Regions from separate parts of the Homo sapiens genome. Here region 2 is linked to region 1. Evidence: promoter capture Hi-C in 16 types of primary human blood cells and fetal thymus (Javierre and others, 2016). All regions are on one chromosome and are shown on one strand. Each heading gives the region's core, a stretch centred on a gene start or on the middle of the fragment in contact. The rest is flanking DNA. Distances are from core to core; before and after follow the strand shown.

Region 1 (3,490 bases), core at 433-2,932:
TTGCTCTTGATATTATCAGAGATTGGGAGCCAATGAAAGCTTTTAAGCAAGCAAGAAACCCTGCAGATGTGTGGTAGCAAAGTGGAAAATGGACTAGATTCCGCCAGGTGCAGTGGCTCACGCCTGGAATCCTAGCACTTTGGGAGGCTGAGCTGGGCGGATCCCCTGAGGTCAGGAGTTCGAGACCAGCCTGGCCAACATGGTGAAACCTCGTCTCTACTAAAAATACAAAATTAGCTGGGCATAGTGGCAGTCACTTGTAATCCCAGTTACTAGGGAGGCTGAGGTGGGAGAATCGCTTGAACGAAGGAGGCAGAGGTTGCAGTGAGCCAAGATCATGCCACTGCACTCCAGCCTGGGCGACAGAGTGAGACTCTATCTTAAAAATAAAAAAAAAAGAAAAGAAAAGAAAAGAAAAATGGACTAGATTTATATCCCTTGCTCCACCCTGTCTTCCCCAAATTTAAATTCCTGCTTCCTAGAGGCAAATTCTTTCACCTTCTATGTCTCTGGTATTTATCTCCTTACTTTTAAGAATCATGTTTAAATTGTTTCTTGATTTTGCCATCATAGATATGATTATGAGGCTAATTAAACAGTAATCCTAACCGCTCTGAGAATGGACCTAAGAAATGAATGTGAGAAAGAAAGTAGAAGCAGCCCACTTGCTAGTGAGTGAAAGCCAGGGAAGGGTGGGGGGATGCGGGGAGAAATTGTCTCAAGTTGGAGAACCCAGGTGCAGGCTGGGAGCAGTACCATGAATTCCATTCAAGAAGCCAAACGTTTTAAGCACCATTTCCTGGAGTTTGCCAAGTTGAGTATTGACCCAGCCTCCTGTCTTGTTGGTTCCTCACTGCTGAAGAAGACCAAGTGTTGACAACTCAGTGAGGCAGTCTCAGCTGGAGTGGAAAAATGTAGCTAAGAAAACGTGCCAGACAAAGCTTTAAGCAGAGCTTCCCAACTGGATGCCGTGAAACGAATGACAGGGATGCAGATACAGCATGGGTCTTCCCAGCCCTCCAAGTGCAAGGGCTTCTGCAGGAAGCCTTCTGCAGGAGCAGCCTCTTCTGTTTACCCCCATTTTGACCCTTGTAATATCATCCTTTCCTACCTGTGCCAAGAAGTGAAAAGGTGTGTGAAGCGCCGCTTTAGAAGGCCCAGTACATTCACAAACATCAGCTTCTGGGCGAGGCTGCTTGGCCTCTTCTATTCAAAACTTTGTGTTGCCCTTTTAAGGTTTCTATTCCCCCCACCCCCACCCCGCCCACCAACACCCATTCCTACCTAGGTTCAACCCAAACCATCCTTAAGGTACACTGAGTATCACAGCACCAAAGGCTGGAGAGAGATAAGTTCCCCACCCTTGATGCGCTTCCTGTCCAGGTGGCCCGAGGCCCACTCCTTAAGAGGCAAGGCCCAGAGACACTGCTGTGTCTTGAGGAACATCCAGTACACCTGACATTTCCATTAGAACAGTGGGACCCGGATACCACTGGCAGGAAGTCCATCTTCACAGCTGCCAACCCATCTGTCAAACCCGCAGTCCCCTATGAGAGTACAGATGAATGGAGGAGGAAGATTTAAAAGTGAATTCGTGGGCGGCGACAAGGAAACAGCAGCCGTGGCCAAGCTGACCCCAGAGCCCTTCCCTTCCTGGCCCTCCCTCTGAATCATCGCGCTCCACTTGTGACGTCGCGGACGCCCGGCTCGGGCAGGCGTGGGGGGCCCGCGCGTCCCGGGAGCCCCGAGGCGGCAGCGCGCGTTTCCACGCCGCGGTCCCGCGGGAAAGCCGGGGGCGGCGGCCTGGCTGAGGCCAAGCTCGGATCCGGTGCCGAGCCAAGCGGGGCCGTGCGTCGCCGGGGCTTCGCCTTCGCTCGCGTGACCTCCGCCGTCCTCCCCAACCCTCGTCCTCTGGCCGCGCCTGCGGCCGCACGCCCAGCGCCCCTCGCCTAACCTCGCGCCCGGGCCGCGCCTCCTCCTCCTCCTGCTCCCCGCCGCTTCCGTTTCTCGAGGGAAAGGCTGCTGCCTCCTGCTCTGTCCTCATCCCCGGCTTAGGTAACACGTTTTCCTCCTTACGACACCCACCACAGGGTCCCCGCGCCGCTGCCCCTCCTCCTTGGATCTGGGGCCCGGGCTGGTGAGCGGCGCGCGCCGTCGCCTCTCCGCGGGTAGGTGAGTCGATGGCGCCGGGAGGGTTCCTCGCCTCTGCGCGCCGGCCTGCGAGGTCCCTGCCCCGGCAGCGAGGCCGCCCCCGGCCGGGCCCGGCCAGGCATGCCCGGCATCGCCGCTGCAGCCAGCGCGGAGGGGAGCTCGTGAGTCCCGCGGCGCCCTTGGCCCTGCCCGAGCGGCCCGATGGGGTTGGGGGGCGGGAAGAAAGGGTGGCAAACAACGATTTTAAAAATCCAGTCATTAGTATTTGTAGGACGAAGAAGCTGATCTGACAGTTGTCCAGAGCAGTGGCCCAGCTGCAACAGGTAGATGGCGCAGCTGTCAGTGACCCCTTGGTCTCAGCCTTGGCTTTGAGAGATGCATCTGAGTGTCCCTAGCTGCCAGCTACCTCCAGTGACCTACTTGATGAGTGTGAAATAAATATGATGGGACTATATTTAGAAAAATCTTTACTTCCTTGCTGTTAATTCTCTCTGCATTTTGAAAGGTGGTTTTGTGAGGTGTGCATAATTAGTTGGTGTGTCCAGAGTGGTAGCTGGAAAAAAATATTTAACCTGGGTTTGGCCCTATCATGTAGACGGTTAGGCGCAAAGAGTGTGAAAGGAAACGCTTACTTTAGTACATCTGTGAAAAACACTTATAAGAAACCACGGCTTGTTTTTTGGAGATTTCTCATTTTAAAGGTATTTTTAAAGTGTTGAATAAGCAGAAGTTTGCCCACTGTATGATGGTGTTCACTTCAAAAGAACAGTGGGTTAAAAGTATGGACAGACCACTTAAGTGGATCCCATCTGTTGAGTAAAAGATTTTTTAGCCCTTTTACACTGATTCCTAGCTTTGAAGCCAGAAAAGTTGATAAGGATCAGCCCTGCTCAACTTGATAATAGTATAAGGATGAAAGTAATCCACTGAACTACTCTTGATTGGTGAATTAGCTAAGTGATCTCATTCTTACCTTTTAAAATAGAGAACATAAGGGAAAAAATAAAGGCAATGGAAGAATTCATTTTTTCAATACAGATATTTGTTTCCATTCTTATGTAGAGCCTACTTTATTTTTAAGTTTTTATGGATTTTTATACTACTTTTGAAGTCAGCTTAGTCATGAAGAGAATTATGTCAAATACATAGAGTTACACTGTACTTTTTGTGTAGAATAAGCTACCACTTTTCAAGCTTTTGGACTAAACCACCGCTTGCTTGGAAATTGCAGCTTTGACTAATGCCCTTTAAAATGATATACCTTATTATAGATTTAAATTATAGCTTTCCTTGTTATAGTCCTGAAAAAAATGAAAAGATAATTTCTTGTTTGACATAG
Region 2 (3,576 bases), core at 285-2,784, 560 kb before region 1:
GCACTCCAGCCTGGGTAACAGAGTGAGACCCTGTCTCTGTAAGAAAAACAAAATGGCTGGGCATGCTGGCTCATGCCTGTAATCCCAGCACTTTTGGAGGATGGTGCAGAAGGACTGCTTGAGGCCAGGAGTTCAAGACCAGCCTGGGCAACATAGTGAGAGCCTATCACTATTAAAATAAAAACAAATTAGCCGGGTGTGGTGGCATGTGCCTGCAGTCCTCAAATTTATTGGGAAGCTAAGGTGGGAGGAGCTATGATCACGCCAGTCTCTTAAAAACAAAAGAGTACTTGGTCCAGGTGAAAAGAAAATATAGTAGAAAAGCTTAAGCCAAAACAATAAAATGAGAGCAAGATGATTTTCTTTATTGCTAGTGTATAGCCTCTATTTAGAGATGGTTGAGACAAGGTGAAGTCTCCTTGTTTCTGCACTGTTATCAACTGGTCTTATATGTCACACAAGAAACTTGGATTTTACCATGACTGCAATGGATGATCACTGAATGACTTAGAGTATGACTTGAGCAAACATGCATTTTTAAAACATCACTCTGCCAAGCTGGAATGGAGAAGGGTAGAGAAGCATCAAGAAGACTATTTGATTTATCTGAGTAATTTACTTGAGGAAAAAATGAGGGTATGGGGATCAAGTTGAGAGTAAAGCAGTAGAAGACAGTGCTCTGAGCAAATGGATATGGAATATAAAGGAAAAGAAGTTATCCTAAGACTTAGGTGACCTTGTATTCTTGTTTGCATACGATGGTTCTGATTATACCTAATCTCTTGTAGTAGTTATTACCAAAGCTCCATTTTACTCTCTAAACAGCCTGTTTGGACTATACATTACAGGTTGAGTATTCCTTATCCACAATGCTTTGGAGCAGAAGTGTTTCAGATTTTGGATTGTTTTGGATTTTGGAATATCGGCATATACATAATGAGATATCTTGGGGACAGGGCCCAAGTCTAAACATGAAATTCATTTATGTTTCATATACATCATACACACACAGCCTAAAGATAATTTTATATAGTATCTTTAATAATTTTGTGCATGAAATAAAGTTTTGATTGCATTTTAATTGCAACCTGTCAGGAAGTCAGGTATGGAATTTTCCGCTTGTGGCACAACACTGGTGCTAAAAAAGTTTCTAATTTTAGAACATTTTCTATTTTGGGTTTCTGATTAGGGATGCTCAACCTGTATATTAATTGCTTTACCATTAACATTCAGCTGTCTGGCTTGGCCTTTAGATAAGATTAGTAGTGAAGCCAGAGGATCAGATTGTGGGTGGTAAGGGAGTAATCAGGAATAAGATAAGTTCCATTTATACTTGTTTGGTTTAAGGTGCAAAGTAATCTGGTGATAAAAATAAATAGGAGCATCCTTATTCTACAGGTAGAAACTGAAAATATGGGTAGATGAAGTAACCTAGGTAGAATACATAGCATAAGAAGAGATGAAGAAAAGAACCTTGGGAATAGAAATATTTAAGAGAGGAAAAGAGAAGGAAGACCCCATAAGAAGAAAGAGAAGGTCAGAAATATATGCCGGTGAAAGTGATCCTATAGAAGCCAAAGGAAGTTTCAACAAAAGTGAGATGATTAGTGTAAAATATTTCAGAGAAGTCACTATTTAAAAGAAAACATCGTTTGCTCTTACAAAGTCTATCACATAAAATGGACTAAATGGACACATATTTATCATGTCTACCAGCACATCATTCTTATCCTCCTCCAGTCAACTTCAAATATACTCCAGAAGATAGAAAATAAATATTATTGTTATTATTTGAGGCAGGGTCTCACTGTCACCCAGGCTGGAGTGCAGTGGCACGATCTTGGCTCACTGCAACCTCCACCTCCCAGGCTCAAGCGATTCTCCTACCTCAGCCTCCCGAATAGCTGGGACTATAGATGTGCTGCCACCATGCCAGGCTAAGGTTTTGTATTTTTTGTAGAGACAGAATTTCAGGCTTCACCATGTTGCCCAGGCTGGTCTTGAAATCCTGAGCTCAAGTGATCTGTCCACCTCAGCCTCCCAAAGCACTGGGATTACAGGCATGAGCCACCGTGACTGGCCAAAATAAATATTAATTTTTAAAAATCAATTTCTCCTGTTTTCCTGTCTTAATGCTTTAAGTTCATTTTAAAAAATATCTTTCAACAAATGTACTGCTAAACTGGATTCAATTAAAATCCTCAACTAACTGTATTTCCTCCTTTTCACGTTACTTTAATGGGTTATTAAAGACAAGAAAAGTCGCTGTCAAGATTTTTTGTTTTTGTAAAAGGCAATTTCCAGGGCTGCATAATATGGTCAGTACAGTCAATCAAAACTTTGATACTCTGTAGAGCTAACACAAGAGAGTAACAAGCAGCAGCTAAGGCACCATAAGATCCTGAATCACATAAGATGATTAAGTTCAAAACTTAAATACTGAAACAGTGAAGTATACTTACACTATTTAGATAGATAAGTTAACAAGGATTGAAACTAAAATGATCTATTTTCTAGATTCTATACAATGAGAAAAAAAAAAGTCTTACTTAGAAAAAGGACCAATGTTGAAATAAAGCGTGAAAGAAAAAAGAAAATTCTATCCCAGATTAGAATTCTTCAAAATTAAGTCTTATATACTAAAAACTACTAAACTATACACTTTAAATGGGTGGATTTTATTGCATGTGAATTATATCTCAAAAAAGCTGTTAAAAAAACTAAGTTGTATACAACACAAAACCTTAAGCTTCTTTAAAAACTATGTTTAAACACACATGTCATAAAGTTTACCATCTTAGACACTTTTTTTTTTTTTTTGAGACGAAATCTCACTCTGTCACCTAGGCTGGAGTACAGTGGAATGATCTCGGCTCATTGCAACCTCTGCCTCCCAGGTTCAAGCGATTCTCCTGCCTCAGCCTCCCGAGTAGCTGGGACTACAGGCATGCGCCACCATGCCCGGCTAATTTTTGTATTTTTAGTAGAGATGAGGTTTCACCATGTTGGCCAGGCTGGTCTTGAACTCCTGACCTTGTGATCTGCCTGCCTTGGCCTCCCAAAGTGCTGGGACTTTAAATGTACAGTTGAGTGGTATTAAAAACATTCATATTGTTGTGCAATCATCACCATTACCATCCACATCCAGAACTCTCTTCATCTTGCAAAACCAAAAACTCTGTACCCATTAAGCAATAACTTTCCATTCCTTCCTCCCCTTAATTTCCGGCAACCACTAAACTTAAAACTTTTAAGTGTTTAGTATAATGTGAAATTCTTACCAGATTATGTATAATATTTGTTAAAGTCCAAGCAACAGGAACACTGAAGAAGGGAATGCTGAGTAAGACAATATGAAGCAAGCCAACTCCCAATGCATATGTCAGCCACATACCCCGGCTGTTCATGACACGGGTATTTGGATTCACTTCACTGTGGGCAACTCCAACGTTCATGTTTGCTCTGTAGGAAGTAATGAAATGAATCAACACTGATACAACTGGCAACCTAACACCCCCAATTCTGACATGACAAGGTACCTGTGTTGCGAGGATTATTTTTTCCTAGTTACTTTGA

Evidence for each region. The method cuts DNA at HindIII sites, captures the fragments that hold promoters and counts their contacts. A CHiCAGO score of 5 or more calls a contact.
Region 2: a contact is called between a fragment that was not itself captured here and the fragment with the promoter of INPP1 in region 1, in 2 of 17 cell types (monocytes and M0 macrophages). The highest score is 7.3, in monocytes.

Annotation. Positions count from the first base shown.
Region 1 is chr2:190,341,907-190,345,396 of GRCh38, forward strand. It overlaps INPP1 (inositol polyphosphate-1-phosphatase), which reads left to right and starts at 1,683. Exons shown (of 7, transcript NM_001128928.2): 1 at 1,683-2,055. LOC124906109 (serine/arginine repetitive matrix protein 1) reads right to left here and starts at 3,143. Exons shown (of 1, transcript XM_047446773.1): 1 at 1-3,143. The coding sequence starts at 2,410. The coding sequence ends at 1,532. RefSeq lists silencers at 1,669-1,978, 2,049-2,378. The HindIII fragment of the contact is 2,404 bases long and covers 940-3,343 here.
Region 2 is chr2:189,779,141-189,782,716 of GRCh38, forward strand. It overlaps ORMDL1 (ORMDL sphingolipid biosynthesis regulator 1), which reads right to left. Exons shown (of 5, transcript NM_016467.5): 3 at 3,282-3,462. The coding sequence starts at 3,455. Among named protein-coding and RNA genes, the nearest start is that of ORMDL1, 3.4 kb to the right of the region's middle. The HindIII fragment of the contact is 2,425 bases long and covers 323-2,747 here.